Linked DNA regions of Homo sapiens: regions 2, 3, 4, 5, 6 and 7 are each linked to region 1. The links are contacts of gene promoters, found by promoter capture Hi-C in blood cells and fetal thymus (Javierre and others, 2016). All regions are on one chromosome and are shown on one strand. The core of a region is centred on a gene start or on the middle of the fragment in contact, and the rest is flanking DNA. Distances in the headings are between cores, read along the strand shown. Region 1 holds the start of KRT7 (keratin 7). Region 2 has its middle 17 kb from the start of EIF4B. Region 3 has its middle 19 kb from the start of KRT18. Region 4 has its middle 3.3 kb from the start of KRT18. Region 5 has its middle 10 kb from the start of KRT8. Region 6 has its middle 21 kb from the start of KRT78. Region 7 overlaps KRT79 (keratin 79).

Region 1 (3,186 bases), core at 409-2,908:
ACTTCACTCCCCATCACATTACAGGTGGTGTTCTCCACCTCCCTATCTGAACAGCCACCTCTTCCTGTCAATGGATCATGAGGATGACCAGGCCCAGCCCTCCCTTCTGTCTGGGACCTCTTCTCTTCCTTCCTCAATATCCTTTCTCTCCTTCCCCTTTCTCCAGCAAGGCCTCAGGACAGTCAATCCATGGTAAAATGACCCCAGCCTGGAGCCCACAAAGGCCCTTAAGGAGTAGCCGGTATGACTGGAGGTGGGAGGCAATAGAGGCCTCTGCAAAACCAGCAGCTCAGGGCCCCAGGCCCTGGGGACCACAGAGAGTAAGACGGTGCAGCTCAACACATGGGGGAACCTGGGCCTGGAGCAGCTTGGGGAGGCCCCTATGAAATCTAAAAGACCGGTCTGGGTGAATGGCGAAGGAAAGGAGAACGTGAGGGAGGCGGGTGTGGGAGTACACTTCGTCTAAGCTGAGGAAGGGGGCCCTGGCCAGAACAGCCCAGCAGGGCCAGCCCTGAGTTCCTGGCTTTGGCAGCACTCCTCCCAAACCCACCAGTCAAGTCTGCCCTCGCCCCCTCCAGCGGCCCCATGTGTGGCGGAGGCCAACAGCCAGGAAAAATATCTCCAAAATGGACCCCTTTTTGAGGGCCCTCTCTGCCACTCCCTGCCCCCAACTGGGCTGTCTTCAAGGGCAGGTATAACCTCTCCTCCTGCCACCTAAGGGAGGCTGGAGGACCAGGCAGGTGGGGGAGGGGAGGGGCGGGAGCCCCCCCCCCTCCCCCGCCCCACCGACTGCCGCTCTAATCTCCAGCATCTGCATCCGCATCAGCATCTGAGAGAGCCTGGGTCTCCCCCTCTGGGAAGGGCGTGCCATCCAACTCCATTCCTGACTCCACACGGTCCTCTCTCAGGGAAAGGGTCCCAGAGAGAGAACTCCTGGCCTAGGCCTCTGGAACTCCTAGTCCGAGGCAAAACTGGTCCAGGTGACCAACAGGCAGCCAGCGAGGGCAGCCCTACAGGACTCAGGCCCGCACTCCGGGAGGAAAGGGAGGGGCAGCTGGGCAGCTTGCTGGAAGGGAGGGCTTGGAAACCGAGGGGATAAAATAGCCACGGGGTTCATGCGAAGGAGGAAGGACCCCCAGATCGTGTCCCCAACACTGGCGGAAAGACAGAAGGGCGGCAGTGCTCCCCAGCGCCTGGCCCGCGCGCAGGCAGGGCTAGTTAGGGCGGCTGGTGTGGTCTGGAGCGCGGCTCGAGGAGAGGCGAGGTCCAGTCCCGCTCACCTTGTCGATGAAGGAGGCAAACTTGTTGTTGAGGGTCTTGATCTGCTCGCTCTCCTCCTGGCGCACCCGCTGGAGGGAGGGGTCGGCGTCCAGCCGCAGCGGGGCCAGCAGGCTCTGGTTAATGGTGACCTCGCGGATGCCGGCGCCCACCGGGCCCCCATAGGCAGAGCGCACGGCCACGCGCGGCCGTGAGGCGCCGAGGCCGTAGAGGCTGCTGCTGCCAAGGCCGCCGGGGCGAGCGGAGCTCAGGCGCACCTGGGCGCCGCGGCCCGAGAAGGCGGCTGAGCGCGAGGTGAATACCGGGGAGCTGAAGTGGATGGACATGGTGGCTGGGCCGGGATGGACCTAGCGGCGGGCGAGGAGGAGCGCGCACTCGCTGACCTCGGGGACACTCCGCGCCTTTTATCCGCGGGAGCGGGCGGCTGGGCTTCCACAGGTAGGGGCGGGGCTGCCGCGGGCCACCTTTCTCTGCTGCCAGGCCCCTCCTGGGGCCGCCCTCCGCCCTCTGCCCGCCCGCCCCGCCGAAGCCCAGGCTTTCAGTCCAAGCAGGGATGGTCCGGAGTAGGCAGGAGCGCCATCCCTAGACGGCCGCAGAGAACAGCGGGGGACCGCAGTTCCAGCCCATTGGAAACGGACTCAGTGAGGGAAGGCTTCCCGGAGGAGGATGCTTGGAGAGGGAGTGAAGAACCTAGAGATCCCTGAGGCCCAAGCAGAGAGACCCAGTGGCAAGAGACTGGGGGAAGGGGTGGGCTGAAAAGTTCCAACCCAGGAGTCAACGCCCAGACGTCCCCATCCTCCAGGCTGCTGAAGCCAGAAAGGCATTCCTTACCGCTCTCCCTCACACCGATCCAGCTCCTCCTTGAGAGATCAGCTCACTTGTTCAGGGGTCTGACCCCTCCTGGCCCAGCTAGTTTCCCTGGCTGCGTTCCTTCCTACTTCATTTCCCATAGAAACTAGGCTGAGAGAGACACACGACCGACCGCACCTCTGGCTCCTCCCCTCCCCACTCCAGTAGGCATCGGAATCCCAGGGACCTTGGGAATGCTTACCCTGGACCCTCACCTCCCGGACCCTCCACTCATATTCCTGCCCATTTATTTTATGCGTCCCTGTACAGGAAGGGGACACTTGTGTGTATTTGTGACACTTTGTGGATGTGTGGACACTTTGTGGATGTGTGCACACGCCTGCAGGCCTCTGGGCTCTGCTGTGCTCACACCCCCAGGCATATGCACCCGCATGTCTGAGCCTGCTTACACAGATGGGGGTCTGTGCGTGCATCCTGGGCGAGGGGGCAGCTGTGGCTACACAATGGCACACATTTTCATGCCTGCCTGAGTGCGTGTGCTTCTGTTAGCACTCAACTCTCCTCCCGCTCCCTCCACCATTTTCCTGTTTAAAGGCCCTCAGCTTTCATCATCTTTCTCCCGTGAAGCCACCACCAAACAATTCCCAGCAGTTTCAAACCCAGTCAAGAGGGGTAATCCTAGTGCTGGAACCGAATACCGGACAAAGCCTGAGTGTTGGCCTCACTTCCCGGTAGGGCCAGCCATGCTTGCCACACCCTGTTCTCAGGCCTGGCTTCCGTCTGCCCTTAGCCCACCTCTAGCCCCTCCCAATAAGCTGGCCAGGTTCGTTACCTCAGACCTAAGCCCTTGGGGGAGACAAGGGTGGGGACGGAATGTCCTTCCTGCTTGGCCATTTCAGTTAAAGCACAAGGACTTCCAGTGAGGCTAAAGACTGTCACTCCTTCTCAGTGATCTTAGTGAAGGCTCACCAGCCTCCCTCCCTGCCTCCCCTCCTGACCCTAGCCATTGGTGTTGGGTCAGCTCAGGCCAGAGGCGGAGGGGTGCCCAAGGAGACCTGCTGTGGTATCGGCTGTGGAGCATGTATGTGTGCATAAGAC
Region 2 (3,186 bases), core at 354-2,853, 760 kb before region 1:
GACTGAAGTAGAGGTGAAGGAAGTAGAAATGTGAGAGCAAGGCCTAGTGATATCTGGGGAAGAGTGTTGCAAAGGCAAAGTGTGTTCTTGGCAGGCGAGGACCCTGAGGTGGTGCTTGGCATGTTTGCGGCCCAAGGAGACTGTTGTGGCTGGAACTTGGTGAGCAAGGGAGAAGGTGGTAGGGGTTCCTATCCTTCCCTTCTCCTCCGTCCCCATGAACTCCGCTCTAACTATGACTTTCCTTTCCCCTCTGTGCTGCTTCAGGAATTGTCCCACTTGAGTTCATCTCCGCCCATCCACCTAGCACATAGTTCCTGGATAAATCTCCCTGAAAGAGCGCTCTTACTGTGTCACCACATCTCTTTCCAAGGCCCTACTCTCCAGCATTGAAAGCTCTGCATGAACTGCCCTCAGCTTGCTTTTCCTACTATATCTGTCACCTCAACTTCTGCCTGGCCCGGAGCGGACGCTGGGCTTTTCCATGTTACTCATCATTCTCTTCATCTGGAATGCCTGCTCCCTCTTAGTCTTGCCAAATCCTTTGCAGGAGAAGCCCCTCCTACTTCAAGACATCTTCCCAAGACATCCTGTTGGCCTGGTCTCCCATTTAGTTGTGTATTTGGCTTATTTTATCCAGGTGGTATTTTATACACAGTTTTTTTCCTCTTCTTCAGGGCCTTGTAACATGTAAACCTCATTTCTGTTTTGGTTTTTTTTTGTTGTTTGTTTTTGTGTGTGTGTGTGTGTGTGTTTTTTTTTTGAGACGGAGTCTCGCTCTGTTGCCCAGGCTGAGGTGAAGTGGTGCGACCTTGGCTCACTGCAACCTCCACCTCCTGGGTTCAAGCAATTCTCCTGCCTCAGCCTCCTGAGTAGCTGAGACTACAGGTGTGTACCACCATGCCTGGCTAATTTTTGTATTTCTAGTAGCAATGGGGTTTCGCCATGTTGGTCAGGCTGGTCACAAACTCCTGACCTCAGGTGATCCACTTACCTCGTCCTCCTAAAGTGCTGGGATTACAGGCATGAGCCACCACGTCCAGCAGTTTTTGTTGTTTTTTAGAGTCAGAGTCTTGCTCTGTTGCCCACACTAGGGTGCAGTGGTGCAATCATGGCTTACTGCAACCTTGAACTCCTGGGCTCAAGCAATCCTCCTGCCTCAGCCTCCTGAGTAGCTGGACTACAGGCATGCACCACCACACCCAGTTAACTTCTAAAATTTTTTGTATAGATGGGTGTCTTGCTATGTTGCCCAGGCTGATCTCAAACTCCTGGCCTCAAGTGATCCTTCTGCCTTGGTCTCTCAGAGTGCTGGGATTACAGGTGTGAGCCACTGCACCCAGCCTAAACCTGTTTTTTTAATGTTCTTCTACTTTTTTTTTTTTTTTTGAGACAGAGTCTTGCTCTGTCACTGGGCTGGAGTGCAGTGGTGTGATCTCAGCTCACTGCAACCTCTGCCTCCCGGGTTCAAGCAATTCTCCTGCCTCAGCCTCCTGAGTAGCTGGAACTACAGGCGTGTGCCACCACGCCCAGCTAATTTTTGTATTCTTAGTGGAGATGGGGTTTCACCATGTTGGCCAGGATGGTCTCGATCTCTTGACTTCGTGATCCGCCTGCCTCGGCCTCCCAGAGTGCTGGGATTACAGGCATGAGCCACCACGCCCGGTCGTTTTGTTTATTTTTCTAATGAAGATTTCTGCTTGGGGAGTTCAGGTGGGGCTTTTTCTTGAGTAAATCCAACCACCTCTACCAAAGACTCTGTAGTTCCCACTTCCTGGGTTGGAGATTGTTAGTCAAAGGAGGAACTGGTGAGGACTTTGGCTAGAAATTTCCCACGTGGTATTTCAAAACCAAACCCAATTCTGGACCCAGACAGGAGAGCAGTTTGGGGTTGCTTATTAGGACAGGCTTGTTTGACACTAGCATACTAAAGTTCTCCTTCTTTTCCTTCTTACTTTCCAGTTCAGACTTTTGAATGATGGGGTATGTTTGAGAAGCAACTAAAAACCCAACCTCTGCCCCTTGGGAGTTTATTACAAATTTATAGTTAGTTGTATTTTCTTGGCAGGTATTGATAAGAAAGTAATTCACCTGATTAATGTTTTTATTGTATATCTGTGGATAAATGAGTAATGAATATATAAATAGTGGAGTATTATCTAATAGACAAATCAAAGGTAAATGTAATAGAGGAAGGAGCTATGGATAAACTCATCACAGAGCTGGGTCAAGTTACACTTTCTCCCACCTTGATCTTGTGTCTGTCTTAGTCAGTTCTGCTGTAACAAATTACTATAGACAGGGTGGCTTAAACAACAAACATTTCTTTTTTGTTTTTGAGACGGAGTCTCACTCTGTCGCCCAGGCTGGAGTGCAGTGGCTGGTGCAATCTCGACTCACTGCAACCTCCACTTCCCAGGTTCAAGCAATTCTCCTGCCTCAGCCCTCCGGAGTAGCTGGGACTACAGGGACCCACCACCACACCTGGCTCATTTTTATATTTTTAGACGGGGTTTCACCAGGTTTGCCAGGCTACTCTCGAACTCCTGACCTCAGGTGATCTCAGGTGATCCACTCACCTCGGCCTCCAAAAGTGCTGGGATTACAGGCGTGAGCCACCGCGCCCGGCCAACAACAAACATCTCTTTCTTTCTTTTTTTTTTTCTGAGACACAGTTTCGCTCTTGTCACCCAGGCTGGAGTGCAATGGCATGATCTCAGCTCACTGCAACCTCCGCTTCCTGGGTTCAAGTAATTCTCCTGCCTCAGTCTCCCAAGTAGCTGGGATTACAGGCATGTACCACCATGCTTAGCTAATTTTTGTATTTTTGTATTTTTTTTTGATGGAGTCTCGCTCTGTTGCCCAGGCCGGAGTGCAGTGGCACGATCTTGGCTCACTGCAACCTCCGCCTCCTGGGTTCAAGCGATTCTCCTGCCTCAGCCTCCCGGGTAGCTGGGACTACAGGCACCCGCCACCACACCTGGCTAATTTTTGTAGTTTTAGTAGAGACGGGGTTTCACCATGTTGGCCAGGCTGGTCTCGAACTCCTGACCTCATGATCTGCCCACCATGGCCTCCCAAAGTGCTGGGATTACAGGCGTGAGCCACTGCGCCCAACCTACAAACATTTCTTTCTTTCTTTTTTTCTTTCCCTTTTTCTTTCCTTCCTTCCTCCCTTTCTTTCTTCTC
Region 3 (3,186 bases), core at 207-2,706, 740 kb before region 1:
TAGGAGTGACCCCAGAGGAGGATTACAAAGCCCTTCTTCAAAGGAGAGGTTGAAAGTGGTGCCCGGGTTCTATAAACATTTGCACTGAGCATTCCTAAATGACAGGGAGATTTATAGTTTGAGTGCCTTCCCATTACGAAGACTGTTTAAGTGACTTGGGAAAGTTTCTTTAAAAAGAAAAAAAAATGGAGCAGATTAAGATGAGATTTTATTTTTCTTTTTTTCCTTAAAAAGAAAAAAAGGCTAGGCGAGGTGGCTCATGTCTGTAATCCAAAGGCTAGGTGAGGTGGCTCATGTCTGTAATCCCAGAACTTTGGGAGGCCGAGGTAGGTGGATCATTTGAGGTCAGGCGTTTGAGACCAGCTTGGCCAACGTGGTGAAATCCTTGTCTCTACTAAAAATACGAAAATTAGCTGGGCGTGGTGGTGCACACCTGTAATCCCAGCTACTGGAGAGGCTGAGGCGGGAGAATCGCTTGAATCTGGGAGGTGGAGGTTGCAGTGAGCTGAGAAGCCGAGACCACGCCACTACACTCCAGCCTGGGTGACAGAGTAAGACTCCGTCTCAAAAAAAAAAAAAAAAACAAATTCTTCCTGGGCTTTCTTAAAGCTGGGGTGTGTGTGAAGCGAAGCTGAGGAAGTTCAATTGTTCTCCCACTAAGTTCTCTTTCCTGGAACAAAGAGGACCTGCAAAGAGAGTGAGAGGACTGCTGGCATCTTGAAATATTCTTCTACTCTCCTTTGTCCTCTTTTCCTTGGGTGAGGCATGCAGAGACTCCTCTTGGTTTGTTATTTGCTCATTTATTTGTTCATTCATTTGCTTATTCATTCAAAAGCTAGTAAGAGAAGATTGTTAAATTTGAAAATTTTGCTTCCCAGAATTAAACCATTTTAAATCAACCATGACAGCAGTATTTATACCTTGGATATTGGCAAATGCTATAGGTTATTAAATAAAATAAAATAACATTTTATTTACAATTTAATAAAAATTACAATTTCAAATTTTTGTCTTTAAAAAAGAAAATAACAACCTGCTGTTTATGTGTTGGAATTGTGTTATGTATCAGGGCATAAGAGTGAACAAGATAGTCCAGTCTCTGCTCAAAGGGAGCTTACAGTCTGGTGCTGCACTGTCCTGTCCAATCTGGTAGCCATTAGCTACTAGCTACTGCTGTGGTTATTAATTTATTTTTTAAAGTTTTTAATTTTGGCTGAGTCTGGTGGCTCATGCCTGTAATCCCAGCGCTTTGGGAGGCCGAGGCAGGTGGATCACCTGAGGTTAGGAGTTCGAGACCAGTCTGGCCAACATGGCGAAACCCCGTCTCTACTCCAAATCCAAAAAAAAAAAAAAAAAAAAAAAATTAGCCAGGTGTGGTGGTGGGCGCCTGTAATCCCAACTACTCGGAAGACTGAGGCAGGAGAATCACTTGAACCTGGGAGGCGGAGGTTGCAGTGAGCCGAGATTGAGCCAGTGCACTCCAGCCTGGGCAACAAGAGTGAAACTCTGTCTCAAAAAAAAAAAAGTTTTTAATTTTTGTGGGTACCCAGTATGTGTATCTATTTTAGGGTACACGAGATATTTTGATACAGGCATACAATGCATAATAATCTCATCAGGGCATCCATCACTTCAAGCATTTATCCTTTATGTTACAAACAATCCAATTATACTCTTTTAGTTATTTTTAAATGTACAATAATTTATTTTTTTTGAGACGGAGTCTTGCTCCATTGCCCAGGCTGGAGTGCAATGGCATGATCTTGGCTCACTGCAACCTCTGCCTCTCGGGTTCAAGCAATTCCCCTGCCTCAGCCTCCCGAGTAGCTGGGATTACAGGCATGCACCACCATGCCTGGCTAATTTTTGTATTTTTAGTAGAGACGGGGTTTTACCATGTTGGTCAGGCACGTCTTGAACTCCTGTCCTTGTGATCTGCCCGCCTCAGCCTTCCAAAGTGCTGGGATTACAGGCATGAGCCACTGCACCCAGCCTTAGGCTGGTGCTTTTTAAACTTTTTTTGCTTCTGGGGAGTGGGTGATAGGGAAAGTTCTGCCAGCCTGGGAGGGGCCCACTAGAGCCTGCTGCTCCAGTGTGGATTGTGGGGAGAGGAAAAGGAACTGTGTGCTTTGGGCCCAGATCACTGGAGTGCCCTGAGTCTCTGAGAAGTTTACCCTACATCCCTCCTGTGGCAGCACCATCCACTTCACCAGGATCTGACCAGGGCCTTCAGGGGGACACAGCCTCCCCGGATCTGAGCATCACTATCATTCTAATTCCTTGGGCTGTTTCTGTGTAGATAATTATTTTCCAGCTCATTCAGGCAGGTGAGGTTGAGGCCAGCAGTGCAGCTAAATCCTTACACCGTGACTGGGGCTGCTTTTATACAGGTTAGGGGAAGAATAATCACTTATGGCTGAAATCTAATGGAAGAGGGAGTTCTGTGTAACTCTAGTGGGCAGAGCTGAGTTTAGAAGGTTAGTAGGAGGCAGATTTCAGCCCAGTAGAAGGAACAATAATGTTCCAGTAATTATACAATTATTATCCAACAGGGGCTATACTGTCATAAATTCTTCAAACGGAGGCCAGATGTTAGGAAGGCCACAAAGAGGATTCCTACTGGGAGAGGCCAAACTTGAACCATCTGTTTATTTATTTTATTTTATTTATTTATTTTTTTGAGAATGGAGTTTCACTCTTGTCACCCAGGCTGGAGTGCAATGGCACAAACTTGGCTCACTGCAACCTCCGCCTCCCGGGTTCAGGTGATTCTTTTGCCTCAGCCTCCCAAGTAGCTAGGATTACAGGCATGCACCACCACGCCTGGCTAATTTTGTATTTTTAGTAGAGACGGGGTTTCTCTATGTTGGTCAGGCTGGTCTCGAACTCTTGACCTCAGGTGATCCACCCACCTCGGCCTCCCAAAGTGCTGGGATCAGAGGTGTGAGCCACCACACCGAGCTGGTAAGTATATTTTTATTTTTATTACTATTTTTTTTGAGACAGAGTCTTGCTCTGTTGCCCAAGGCTGGAGTGCAATGGCAAGATTTCAGCTCACTGCAAACTCCGCCTCCCAGGTTCAAGCAATTCTTCTGCCTCAACCTCCCAAGTAGCTGGGAATACAGGCGCATGCCACCACGCCTGGCTATTTTTTTTTTTTTTTTGTATTTTTAGTAGAGACAGGGT
Region 4 (3,186 bases), core at 371-2,870, 710 kb before region 1:
CCAGTGCCCCTCCCCTCTTTTCTAGGACTTTTCTCCAAGCCAGTCCTTCCCCTGTCCCCCCTTGTAAGGGCTGTCTGGATTAGAAGCCTGGCCCCAGGGGACTGCATCCTCCAAGATGCTCTCCCCAGCCTCTGTGTGAGAAGGATGGAGGTAGGGAGGCTTTCATGCTGCCTGCCCCCTGAAGCTGAATGACCATCCCTGCTGAATGAAGTGTTGGGGGGAACCCTTAGGTGTTTGGCCTTCAAGTTTGTCAGCTCCAGCAGCTCGTTTTTCTGGCAGGGCCTGGTATGACACATTTGGCTGTGTTCTTTGCTCTGGAGTGGACCTATTGATTCTTATCGAGCTACCAGCTGAGGGGGAAGGGGAGGACAAATAGTAGGGCAGACCTGGGAGAGAAGGGACCCTGGAAAAGCCTGGCCAGTGGACCTGCCAGGTGGGAGGCAGAGCACAGATAAAGAGCCTGAGCCTGGATTGTTCCTGATCTGTCACCTAATGGTGGGGAGAGCCCCACAGTGCTCAATGGGAGCCAGCCAGGGGGCAGTCAGGGTGGAAGCTGGCCAGGGGAGGGTCGGGGCCTGCTGAAGGCTGGGAGGCAAACGGGATGCAAAATAACATACAAATGAATGCCCACTGGTTTTGCATACAAGGCTTCTGGGAGGTAAGAGGTTCCAGTCAGAGGGGTCTCTCCTGCTTTCACCTTTATATTCCCCCACTGGATTCCAGAACTGTCAAGTTGGGCAGTATTTTATAATAAAGTATGTGGAGTCAACAAGCTACGTACTGCCTTTTACTGTTATTGCTAAGCTTTAAGTCAGCCAGCCTGGATACTTTGCTAGCTGTGTAACCTTGGGGAAGTCACCTAACTCTGAACTTCAATTTCTTCACTTGTACAGGGAAAACAGTAAGACCTGTCCAGTCTATTTCCTCAGGTGGCAGTGAATGTGAGTGTAAATTGTCACTCACTCATTCATCAAACAAATACTAATTATTTGTACTGGAGCCTTCCTTCAAAGTAAGGAAGGCTTCAATATATACAGGAGGGCAGATAAAGGGGGTCAATTTAATTCGAAAGACGGGCTCAAGGGGTTTGAAGTCTGTCTCTCTGAGTCATTTAAAAACCCTGGGGCACTTTGAAATCTACCAGCAATCAAAACAGATTCTAGAATTTTTCTCCAAGCTAATTCCCAGGTCCTTGTCTGATTCCTGCCCCACCCCAACTGCTAGGAAACTTCTGGGACCTGTGGAGGTGCAGCGTGGGGGCTGGAGAGGGAGAGCTGCCAGCTAGACTTTATCTCTCCTACTGATGTCGATGGCCACATTCCTGACTTCTTGCAGCATGGGGCAAATACCGACCTCGGGCTTCCAGCACCAGCCTGCCCCTTTCCACCACTTCCAGATTCCTCTGTGGCTCAGGGCTTTTTCACTTTGTCAGAGAGCCTCTTGGAGAGCTGGGGTGAAGGTCTCGGCCTCCAGATTCCCAGCACTAGGGTTCTGGGGTGGGGGTGGGAAGCAAGGTGGAAAGGGGGATGGCGTGATTGTGAGGACAGTCCCGGGAAAGGGTGGAGCAGGAGGGGCCCTGGTGAGAAGCTCCCAGAACAGACACAAAGAGTAATGAGCCTCGGCAGGGGGGAATCCGGAAAGAGGGGAAATGGTTCTCCACCCACCATCAGTCCTGCATTCCAGCGTCCAGCAGAAGGGGAGTGGGAACCTGTGAGGCAGGTTTAACTTCAGAGTAGACTCAGAGATGACCCGATAGGGGTGGGTCAGCTCTTACTGCCCACTCCACATTCTCCCACAAAGGGCTTGAGCTGATGGCTCTGGGGAAACTAGGTGGTGGAGAGATGAGAGGATTAGGGAGGATTGGAAGGCCTGCAGTCCTTCCGCCTTTGCTTTAACATTTAGGCTGGAAATTCCTTGCTCAGCCTGGAGGAGGGAGGTGTTCGGAACAGCAACTGAGGTGTAAGGATGGGGTCTATACACAAAACAGGGAGAGACTGATTCCCATCCTCTTCTTTAAAGACTGAGGGTGACTCCAGTGTGTTGGAGACAGTGAGAAGGCCCTGTGGTGGGGTGGGCTGGAGGGAGGAAGGGATCGCCTGGGAGGCTCCCCTGGGCTCCTTTCAGCTACTCTCAGTGGAGGGTATACCCATGCAGGGGGCCCTCCCACAGGAGAAATCCCAGGGCTGCTGAGTTAAGGGTAGAGCTGTTGAGACAGAGGGAGATCTGGGGTAGAACCCAAAGGAAAAGGAATCTGGGGTGGAATGGGAATCCTCCTGCCCAGCCCTGCATCTGGCACATAGGTGGAGCTCCGTAAATACTTTAGGTTTAAGTAATTAATAAACATGGGGTGCTAGGAGAGGTCAGTGGGGGTCATCAGAAAGTGCAGTCAGGTAGACTGCAGAGAGACAAGAGGTGGGGGCAAGGGTACAAGCTTCAGAGGCAGCTGCGGAGCAGGGGGAGGATGCGGGTGGCAGCTGGGTGCAGGACCCAGTCTGATATCAAGACTTCTGGAATTTCAGCACCCTATTTGGAGTCCCTGGCACTGCCTGTGGAGGTGGGAACGGGTTCTCAGGGCTTGGGCCAGGCCCTCTTCCCCAGGGGTGGGAGAGTCGAGGAATGCCCTGACACTTAGTATCATTGCTTCGGTTGGGTTTGTGCCCTAGGGGTTATTTTCCAAGGATAAAGGAAGAGGAAGGGTCAGCGCTGAGAAGCGTGTGGCTGCCCAGAAACCTCCAGGCGCTGAAGCTCAGAGAAGTCGGGGAACCTGGCCCTTCTAGGAGCCCCTCAGCTCCCTGGCCCAGCCCCACCAGGAATGGCCTTGCCTGTGCTTATGTCCTTTGCCCATTCTGACCCTGGTGCTGTTGGCTTCTCCTCAGGTGCAACCCCAGTATCCCAATGCCATATCCCCCAGCCTATCGCCTCACTCAAATCTGCCCAGAGATTAGGGGAGGGCAAAGGGATGAATAGGGCACTTGGTGTCAAAAGACCTGGATTCGGCCAGGTGGCTCATGCCTGTAATCCCAGCACTTTGAGAGGTTGAGGTGGGAGAATCGCTTATGGCCAGGAATTTGAGACCAGCCTGGGCAGTATAACAAGACCCTGTCTCTATGAAATAATAAAATATTTCAATATTTCACAATATTCCCCACTGCTGGCTTAGTGATCTTGAGCAGCCTTTACTAGCTT
Region 5 (3,186 bases), core at 687-3,186, 680 kb before region 1:
ATTTACTCTGGAGCATCTACTCTGGGCCAGTACCCTGCTGGGCAGATGCTGGCACTGAGACAGGAACCAGACACAGACGCTGGAGGAACCTGCTCTGTCTCCAAGGAGCTGTGTCTAAAACTGATTGGATGACACGATGGTAAGCCCAGTGGCTCATGGCAAGTGCATGGAACAGTCTAGCTGGAACAGAAGGTGCTAGGGTTCAGCAGGGAGCTGCTAGAAGTGCAGCTGAGTGACCTTGGACTCACGCCCATGCAGTCAACTGCCACCTCCTGTTGGTTCTAGCTTGAGTCCATCCCTATCTTCCTGCTCCTACCACACTGCAGGCCTCCAGACCTGCTTTCTGCAGTAGCCCCCTTTCTAGTCTCCTGCCCCTAGTTTTTGCCCCTACCATCTATCCTGAACACCCCAGCCAGCTTAATTTTCCTAAAGCACTGCTTTAAGCTCATCATCCTGCTCCTCCCTTCCTGCAGCCTGCAGAAAAAGCTCTGTCTGGCCTCTGAAACCCCTAGTCCCACCCTCCTCCCCAATATCTAGCTTTTCTACTCTTCCATAGGAATCCCGCTCCTGTCCAGTGGCTTATCACATTTCCAGATCTTTCCATCCATATCTTACTTTCCTAAGCTCAGCTTGATCTAAGGGCTCTCTCCTTCCCCTGAAGTCCTATAGCATACATCTGAATCATTTATTTATCTGAAATCAATATTCCGTTGATAAGGTACAGAAGGTAGACTTTGGCCAGGTAGTATTTGTATTTATAGAAGGGCTCGGTGTGTACACGGATATCTTTATACCTGGCTTCTCTGGTTCCACGTCTTTATTGGTGTACATTTTGGTTAGCATATGTAGTGAACATCTGTTGTTTCTGCCTGTCCAGCATTTGTTTATCTTTTCTTTTCTCTTCTTTTTTTTTTGAGACGGAGTCTTGCTCTGTTACCCAGGCTGGGCTGGAGTTCAGTGGTGGGATCTTGGCTCACTGCAGCCTCTGCCTCCTGGGTTCAAGCGATTCTCCTGTCTCAGCCTCCCAAGTAGCTGGGACTACAGGCATGCACCACCATGCTCGGCTGATTTTTTTGTATTTTTAGTACAGATGGGGTTTCACCATGTTGACCAGGCTGGTCTCGACCTCCTGACCTCAGGTGATCCACCCGCCTCAGCCTCCTGAAGTGCTAGGATTACAGGCGTGAGGCATGGTTCCTGGCCCTGTCCAGCATTTCTTCCTGGTCTTTTGGTGAATCACATTTTTTTTTTTTTTGAGATGGAGTCTTGCTCTGTTGCCCAAGCTGGAGTGCAGTGGCGAGATCTCGGCTCACTGCAGGCTCCGTCCCCTGGGGTTCACGCCATTCTCCTGCCTCAGCCTCCTGAGTAGCTGGGACTACAGGTGCCCGCCACCTCGCCCGGCTAATTTTTTGTATCTTTAGTAGAGACGGGGTTTCACTGTGTTAGCCAGGATGGTCTCGATCTCCTGACCTCATGATCCGCCCACCTCTGCCTCCCAAAGAGCTGGGATTACAGGCGTGAGCCACCGCGCCTGGCCCAAATCACATTTTTTTTCCCCTTTCTCTATAGGTTGGGTGGGGCTGATCACCCCTCCACAGGGTCTTGTTATGTGGTCTAGTCTAGTCAACATGATAGTATTCTATTCCCCTGGCCACAGGGATTGGTTCAGAGATGAGCATGTGACCTATATCAGCCTTGGAGAGTCAGCCCTGGAACTTCAGCAGGAAGCATCGGGAAAGAGGTGCTCCCTTAGTGGTCGCCCTTCCTGCAGCAGGGAGATGGCCTGCCCGAGGACGAAGCTAACATGGAGGAAAATAGCCAAAAGACAGGAAGAGAGTCTTGGTCCTGATGATATCACTGAGCCCCTTATCTGGCTAGGCTGAAAGCCAAATGCACCCTTGAACTTCTCAATTATAAGAAATGATCTTTTTATGCTTAAGTCTGTTTGAGTTGGGTTTCAGCCACTTGCAATCAAGAATGTGTATCCTTTGGCTGGGAGCTGGGGCTCACACCTGTAACTTTGGGAGTCACAGCACTTTGGGAGGCCAAGGTGGGAGGATTGCTTGAGGCAAGGATTTTTTGTTTGTTTTTGAGACGGAGTTTCACTGTTGTTGCCCAGGCTGGAGTGCAATGGTATGATCACAGCTCGCTGCAACCTCCACCTCCTGGCTTCGAGCAATTCTCCTGCCTCAGCCTCCTGAGTAGCTGGGGTTACAGGCATGCGCCACCATACTATGCTAATTTTTTGGTATTTTTAGTAAGGACAGTTTCTCCATGTTGGTCAGGCTGGTCTCGAACTCCCAACCTCAGGTGATCCGCCTGCCTCGGCCTCCCAAAGTGCTGGGATTACAGGCGTGAGCCACTGCACCCGGTGGATTTTTTTTTTGTTTTGTTTGTTTTATTTTTGAGACAGAGTCTCGCTCTGTCGCCCAGGCTGGAGTGCAATAGGGCAGTCTTGGCTCACTGCAATCTTTGCCTCCTGGGTTCAAGCGATTCTCCTGCCTCAGCCTCCCGAGTAGCTGGGATTACAGGTGCCTGCCACCATGCCCAGCTAATTTTTATATTATTAGTAGAGACGGGATTTCACCATGTTGGTCAGGCTGGTCTTGATCTCCTGACTTCAGGTAATCAGCTGGCCTTGGCCTCCTAAAGTGCTAGTATTAGAGAGGCATGAGCCACCTCTCTCAGCCTGAGGCCAGGATTTTGAGACCAGCCTGGGCAATATAGTGAAACCTCTGTCTGTATAAAAGAAAAAACAAACAAACCTGTAACCGTGTATTTGAGTTTGGATGTGTGTTATATATGGCTGTGTGTGCACAGGTATGTGTGTGACGTTCGTAGGAAGGTGGTGTGCACGGGACTCTGACGGGTGGTACACGCACATGCTTGTGCCTGAGATGAGGATGTGAGGTGGTACTGCACCTTGGCGTGTGCGTCAGGCCATGCAAGTGAGAGGGCAGGTGGGGTGTGTGTGAACCTGAGAGAGTGTGTGAGGGACAAGAGGGCGTGTGTGCTATAGGCTGAGGTTGTGTGCCCACAGGGTGGGGGGTGGGCCTGTGAGGCTGTTTGTTCTGGGAGATAACCCATCAAACATGTGTGCTTTGTATTTATATGGATACATGCATATAAAGACACGTGCTCAAAAACACCTGCTTATCATCATGCACCTCTGCCCTCCTGAAAATT
Region 6 (3,186 bases), core at 387-2,886, 640 kb before region 1:
TGACATTTTTTTTCCCCTTAGTCAAATGTTGCAGTCGCTGCATTTCCTCTGCTGTTTCCCTCCCGGCTGAACTGGACAGGCAGAACTGCCTCTGGGTGGGAAGGGAACTAGGTGTCTCCCAGTGGGCCCCAAGTAACGCCACTATGGTGGGGATTCCCTCCCTGGCCTGACCTCAATCCCGCCAGCTGCAGTCTATTCCCACCGATGTTGTCCTCTGTGGATGGGACCCCAGCTGGAGAAACCTTGGTGGGTCCACCTTCAGTACAGGCTATGTGAGGTTCTCTCCAGTCCCTCACAATCCTCTCTGTTCCCTAAATTCTTCCCCAGTTAAAATCACAATCCCTTCCAGTGCTGGGTGGCAGGATGGGGCTGTGGCACCCAGGGTAGGCACTGGTGCAGGTCCAGTGGTATCTGGATGGTGTTGCTGATGGCCTGGAGCCCCCAGATATTCCTGCTTTGATGCTTGGTACAACCCACATTGACCCCCTTTGTTTTAGCTAATTGGGGCAGCTGTGAGTTTCTGGATTCTATCTGGCCCAGGTCGGTGGACTGCCTTCAGACTCCAGGGTGCCAGGGAGCATAGGGCGTGTTGGAGGTAAAAGGGCCAGGCTGGTGCCGCCCTGGGAGCTGGGGGGAGCCCGAGCTCACCTCTCCGCCTCCTCCCTCCATTCTAGGATTGCCCTGCAGGGGTCGCCCTAAGCCAGGCTTCCAGGCGGCCAAAGCACCCACCCTTTTCAGACTCCGGGTCCTCCCTCAGGCTCCTTGACCCCCAGACTCGGGGTTCTCTTCTCTCTGTGGGGTCCCCTCAGCCCTTGGGAATCCAGGAAGTGACATGAGGAAGGGACAGAGACAATGTGTGACCCAGAGGCTCTGAAGCGACAGGAGTGACAAGTGTCAGAGCACATGCAAATGACATGCAAATGAGCCTGGCCAGTGCCAGAGGGTGTCTGGGCCCAGGCACTGTCTCCAGCAGCCCTGCAATTGTCTGCCTCTTCTCTACCTGTCTGTGTGCGTTAGGGTCCGTTTCTCTGCCCCTCCCCACAAGTAACCAACTGCGCCAGGCATGTGCTAAGTACTTGGAAACCTCAATTGTCACTATAACCCATGGCAGGGACCATTATCCTCATTTTTTCATATGGTTTCTGTATGGCTCCCATGGGGTTGGATTAGTGTTTCCCAGTCTTCCTGCCCCCTACAAATTAATAGGTGTTTAGTGAGTCTGAAAATAATGTAACGGGGGCCCCACCCCCACCACCTAGAGAGCAGAGTTCCTCTGAGAGGTCCCAGAGAATGGGGACTCTGGGCTGTGGTTTGGCACAAAAAGACTGGGGCAGAGGGTCAAATGTGGGAGGGGGATCTAGAGAAGACATTTTGACTATTTCCCAGCTTCCATGGGGCCACCTATCCCTGCCTGACCAGGGTCCCTGGACCTAGTCCTTCTGTATATTGACTTTGTCCTTTCAGAGATGGCTGTAGTCACCTAACTTCAGTCCCCTTTGTGGCAGCACCAGCCTATTACCCTGTGGTGGGTCAGGCTTGCCAAGAAACTTTTAAAGGGGGTTTGATGTAGTTCTGTGCCTCCCTCTTGCAAAAGGCCTTCATGAGGCCTGGGGGCTTCAAGTGACACTTTTCCCCTCTCCTTTCCGGAATAGAGCTCCAGAGACCTGGAAGGGGCTGTGGGGAACTGACGCCCTGCTCCTCCTTGCATTTGACACTGCTTCTTCCTGGCACTTAGCAGGGCCTGGGGAAGCTGGGATGGGGCTGGGGGTGGTGGCCTTAGGTGAGGTTTGCTCTGTCTCCTCCTCAAAGTGATGTGCTCCAGCCCCAGCTGGCACTTTCATTCCAGTTTCCTCCTCGCACATTCTTCATTTCCCCTCCCCTGCTGTCTCTGCTGCTTTCCGCACCTTCCCTGCTCCCTGCCCATCTCCTGTCTCCTGAATCTCCAGCCAGGTGCCCCTCTTCTCTGTTCCCCCTCTGGGAACCTTCTTGGCTGGTCACTCTGGAGTCCCACTGAGTTTCTCTTCCCTGGAGACCCTTGGGGCTTGAGCACTCCTCTCTGTGGCTGGGAATGAGGTGGCTCCAGGAATGAAACCCTGGCACGTTCCAGAGTTTGGAGGCTCTTGGTTGCTCAGGAAGCTCCCAGCATGTACACTCCTTGGGGTCTGAGGCCCCTGGCCCACCACTGGCTTTGAGGCAAATGGCCCAGGCCTCCCTGGGGCAGTGACAGCACAGGGAAGTAGGCACTTGGGCTCAGCCACAGGCCTCCTTTCCACCATCTCTGCACCCTATTCCCTCCCACACTGCATGCAACCATGCGCCTGCCCTCTCAATCAGGTGGCACAGAGGCCTGGCCCCCCTCCTCATCCCTTCTTTCACTTAACAATCTCTCTCCCTTTCTTCCCGAGGCCCCTTACACTCCCCTTCACTGGAGCCTTCACCAGCTGCCCAGCCCATGGCTCTGCTAGTTGCCCCATCTGGCCTGAGTGCATTCTCTCTTTGGATTCCTCCATCCCCTCTGGTGGAGGGGTGGCTATTCCAGCTGGAGAACAGACAGATGCAGGCATAGACCTGAGAAATGCTTTACAGATAGTCCTGGGTTCAGATTCTCACTCTGCCACTATTGGTTGTGTGATCTAGGACAACCAAGCCTCAGTTTCCCCATCTATAATATGCGATTAATCAGAGGTATGCTATGTAAAGCACCTGGCATGTAGTAGTTGAACATTAAGTGATAATTCTACTTCTTTTTTTTTTTTTTTTTTTTTTGAGACAGGGTCTCCCTCAGTCTCCCAGGCTGAGTGCAGTGCAGTGGTGCGATCATGGCTTACTGCAGCCTCAAACACTTGGGTTCAAGTGATCCTCCTGCCTCAGCCTTCCAAGTAGCTAGGACTATAGGCATGAGTCACTACATCCAGCAAATTTCCTTTTTTTTTTTTTTTTGTAGAGACGTGGGGGTCTCACTTTGTTGCCCAGGCTGGTCTTGAATGCCTGGGCTCAAGTAGATTCACCTGCCCTGGTCTCCCAAAGTGCTGGGATTACTGGCGTAAGCCACTGCACCTGGCCTAATTATTCTTGATACATATAATACTACTGACAACTGAGACAACTTCCTGGAAGAATGGTCTTCTTTGGGACCCTTGAATGAAAGGAAGGGACATTCTTGACATTCAAACCCTGCCTCTAAGT
Region 7 (3,186 bases), core at 480-2,979, 590 kb before region 1:
TCAGCAGCTGCAGACGGCCATTGCGGAAGCGGAGCAGCGTGGGGAGCTGGCACTCAAGGATGCTCAGAAGAAGCTTGGGGATCTGGATGTGGCCCTGCACCAGGCCAAGGAGGACCTGACACGGCTGCTGCGTGACTACCAGGAGCTGATGAATGTCAAGCTGGCCCTGGACGTGGAGATTGCCACCTACCGCAAGCTTCTGGAGAGCGAGGAGAGCAGGTGGTGGCCCCTCCTGCCCGACCCAGAAAGCTGGGTCGGGCCTGCCCTGGGGGAGAGCCCAGGGAGTCTGCTCCGGGGTCAAGAGAGGGAGAGAGGAACCAGGGAGCAAGATCCTGACTCACGCGGGGGGAAAATCTGCTTGTGCCCACTGCCTCCATCACTCCTCTCCTTGGTTGGCACAACTCTTGTTAATCTTTACTGTGGCTGACAGCCCGGTAGGAATGGAACTTCCTCTTCCACCAGCAGATTTCACCAGCAGTGGAAGCTTTGGAAAAAAAAATCCACCATCTCTGTCCTTAGGAAAAGCATGAAATAGAAAGTGGGCAGAAACTAGGCAGCTCTGTCTGGTCGTGGGCTTGTTTCCATTGGGGCAGGGATGCTGTCCGTAGCCCACATGGGCAGAGAGGAAAGAAAAGGGGAGGATGGGAGTTGGCACAGCCTACTGGTGGCTCTGCCCTTTCTGCAGCACTGGCTTTTGGACCTGGGCACAGCCCTATACACATACTTCTCATGTTTCCTGGTCTTGTCATCAGGATTCACTGAGTGGATCCAATGTAAAGGCAGAGGGAAGGAGAGGGTTTTCATGTGGGCACCAGGGATAACTGACTGCTCTCCTGGCCTTTCTGTGTCCCCTAGGATGTCTGGAGAATGTCCCAGTGCAGTCAGCATTTGTGAGTATTTACTCCCCACTTCCTGCTCCACCCCTGGCCAGGCCCCAGAACTCTGCTCAGTTTATGCAACCTGTACCTGTCCTAAAGCATGCTCTCCTCCATTCGAGCCCCTGGAGACAGGTTCAGAGGGTCCTAGTTCTGGGCTTCTCTATCCATTTCCCATAGCTCTGCTGCTTGATTTTGTTCTGATTCCCCACTGATTTCTGGGTCTCCCCCAGCCCTCTCTGGCATGGCCGCCCTGACTAATCCAGACCCTTTGCTTTGCAGCTGTGACTGGCAACTCCACCACTGTGTGCGGAGGTGGCGCAGCCAGCTTTGGAGGTGGCATCTCCCTGGGTGGGAGTGGGGGGGCCACCAAGGGTGGATTCAGCACAAATGTGGGCTATAGCACCGTCAAGGGAGGGCCAGTCTCTGCGGGCACCTCCATCCTGCGGAAGACCACTACGGTCAAGACGTCCAGCCAGAGGTATTAGCTGCTGAGCCCTGCAAGGGCCCCTGCAATCCTGTCCCTGCCCTCCTCACCCCACCTCTGCTGTCCTTTCCAGTCACTTCTCAGGAGCAGGAACAGCCAGGGGACCTCAGACCCAGGGTATTTTCATACCAGACTATTTGCATCTTGGGAAGCGCTCAAATCTACTCAGGTTTTCTCCTTGGTCCTGCAGTAGGATGGGAGGGAAGGTTAAAGTTGCCAGCTTGAGTGATGTGCTTGGGTGACTTGGGGGTGACCTTTTGACCACCGAGAGGAGGCTGAATTTCTCAAGCCATTAGGAGAGAGAGAAATTGGGAGTGGTCCCCAAAGACCCTTCAACCTCCCCAGTCCCCCACCAGACCCACCCTCTCCCTGAATCTACCCACATCCCCCTTCCCTGTCTGTGTCTCAATAAATGGTGCAACTGCAGCTAGCTGTCTGTGGCTGCAGTCTGTCCTGCCTGGGGAACTGAAATTGTGTCCATTGATTAACATCCTGATGCCTGACACAGCAATAATCACACACTCACCACATCCCAATCGCCATGCTTACTTAGGTACATTAGTTTGATACCATCGCCACTCCAGGGCTGTACATGGCTCACAAGAGGAGACCAAGGCTCAGAGGGAATATGTAAGCTGCTCAAGGCCAGACCTGGCTAAGTGGCTGCCTATTAACCAGCCACCCCTGGTGCCTGTTCAGCCTCCCACTAACTCTGTAGGGGCAGACAGCATGCTTTGTTCAGTGGAGAGGTCTTAGGCTTCAGAACTAGGCAACTTGGGTTTAAATCCAAGTTCTGCCACTTACTAGCTGTATGACCTCGGTCAAGTTACCTAACCTCTCTGAGCCTTAGTTTCCTCCTTTGTAAAAGTGGGTTGTGATAAGAACATGTGTAAAGCATCTGGCTTATAGAGGCCCTTTCAGGAATCAGGTTTCTTTGCTTTCCCACTCCCTGACTTCTGGATTCCCAGCTTATCCTCTTGGCCTCAGTGATGTCTCTCTCAGCCCCCACATCCAGTCGGCAAGAAAAATCCACACTTAATTGGGTTTTGTGGTTTACACATACATTACTTTGCCTGTGACCATCACCACAGCCCTAGGTTCAGTAGTGGGCATGTGGTGTTCCAGTTTACAGGTGAGGCGATTCACGCTCACAGAAGTGACCTCTCATGCTGTAGTCATCCAGCTGGCTGGAGGTGGGTCAGTAGTGTCCAGGGCTGCAATTTCAAGCCCTCTGTCCTGTCACCCCAGAAGCTACCTCCGTCCTACTCCTGCCTCCATCACTCGCCAAATCTTACTGCTCCTCCCTCCATGCGTCTCTTGGTATCACCTTCTTTCCTCTTCATCTCCACAGTTCTCTACTTTGAGTCTGGACCCCACTCCTCAAGCTGTACCCAAGTGATTCCCCAATTGGCTGGCCTCTCAACCCTGCACCTCTCAGGCCCTCCCCACCCTGCTACCAAACCAGTTGGCCCGACCCGAGGCTGTCACCACTCCGCTCCCTTCCTTGGCAACCTTAGGGCTCCTGGCAGTTGCTGGGATGCATCCCACACTCTTCCGGCCTGATCACTCTGTCCTCCTCAGAGGAGCCCCGAAGAGCCCTGAGAAAGCTTCCTCCAGGGCTGTGGAAGGCCAGCAGAGGGATTTTCAGCCAAACCCTAACCTCCAGCTTAGGAACACAAAGGCCTAGCGGTTTAGGGTCAGCTCTGCCTCACCAGCTTGGGTGGTCTCTAGCTTCCCTTCTCAGACAGATGGAGTATAGTCCACCCCATGTACAACACTTTGAGGAATACTTGCTAATGCTCACTGAGTGCCAACTGTGTGCCA

The links. The method cuts DNA at HindIII sites, captures the fragments that hold promoters and counts their contacts. A CHiCAGO score of 5 or more calls a contact.
Region 2: a fragment that was not itself captured here is called in contact with the fragment with the promoter of KRT7 in region 1 in 1 of 17 cell types (M2 macrophages); the score reaches 5.6 in M2 macrophages.
Region 3: a fragment that was not itself captured here is called in contact with the fragment with the promoter of KRT7 in region 1 in 3 of 17 cell types (M2 macrophages, M0 macrophages and naive CD4 T cells); the score reaches 6.9 in M2 macrophages.
Region 4: a contact is called between a fragment that was not itself captured here and the fragment with the promoter of KRT7 in region 1, in 2 of 17 cell types (endothelial precursors and M2 macrophages). The highest score is 6.3, in endothelial precursors.
Region 5: a contact is called between a fragment that was not itself captured here and the fragment with the promoter of KRT7 in region 1, in 1 of 17 cell types (M1 macrophages). The highest score is 6.5, in M1 macrophages.
Region 6: a contact is called between a fragment that was not itself captured here and the fragment with the promoter of KRT7 in region 1, in 1 of 17 cell types (endothelial precursors). The highest score is 6.2, in endothelial precursors.
Region 7: a fragment that was not itself captured here is called in contact with the fragment with the promoter of KRT7 in region 1 in 1 of 17 cell types (fetal thymus); the score reaches 5.7 in fetal thymus.

What each region holds. Positions count from the first base shown.
Region 1 is chr12:52,231,715-52,234,900 of GRCh38, reverse strand. KRT7 (keratin 7) reads right to left here and starts at 1,658. Exons shown (of 9, transcript NM_005556.4): 1 at 1,281-1,658. The coding sequence starts at 1,604. It also overlaps the pseudogene TMT1AP1. RefSeq lists an enhancer at 97-1,072. The HindIII fragment of the contact is 10,919 bases long and covers 1-3,186 here.
Region 2 is chr12:52,987,714-52,990,899 of GRCh38, reverse strand. No RefSeq gene overlaps it. Among named protein-coding and RNA genes, the nearest start is that of EIF4B, 17 kb to the left of the region's middle. The HindIII fragment of the contact is 7,088 bases long and covers 1-3,186 here.
Region 3 is chr12:52,966,832-52,970,017 of GRCh38, reverse strand. No RefSeq gene overlaps it. Among named protein-coding and RNA genes, the nearest start is that of KRT18, 19 kb to the right of the region's middle. The HindIII fragment of the contact is 7,174 bases long and covers 1-3,186 here.
Region 4 is chr12:52,944,200-52,947,385 of GRCh38, reverse strand. It overlaps a transcript of KRT8 not described here. Among named protein-coding and RNA genes, the nearest start is that of KRT18, 3.3 kb to the left of the region's middle. RefSeq lists a silencer at 7-301 and enhancers at 1,252-1,847, 3,037-3,186. The HindIII fragment of the contact is 1,627 bases long and covers 807-2,433 here.
Region 5 is chr12:52,913,443-52,916,628 of GRCh38, reverse strand. It overlaps a transcript of KRT8 not described here. Among named protein-coding and RNA genes, the nearest start is that of KRT8, 10 kb to the right of the region's middle. The HindIII fragment of the contact is 8,808 bases long and covers 1-3,186 here.
Region 6 is chr12:52,868,157-52,871,342 of GRCh38, reverse strand. No RefSeq gene overlaps it. Among named protein-coding and RNA genes, the nearest start is that of KRT78, 21 kb to the right of the region's middle. RefSeq lists enhancers at 755-804, 308-808, 809-1,309 and a silencer at 915-994. The HindIII fragment of the contact is 4,084 bases long and covers 1-3,186 here.
Region 7 is chr12:52,820,049-52,823,234 of GRCh38, reverse strand. It overlaps KRT79 (keratin 79), which reads left to right. Exons shown (of 9, transcript NM_175834.3): 7 at 1-219; 8 at 856-890; 9 at 1,158-1,827. The coding sequence ends at 1,363. Among named protein-coding and RNA genes, the nearest start is that of KRT4, 7.5 kb to the right of the region's middle. The HindIII fragment of the contact is 2,485 bases long and covers 487-2,971 here.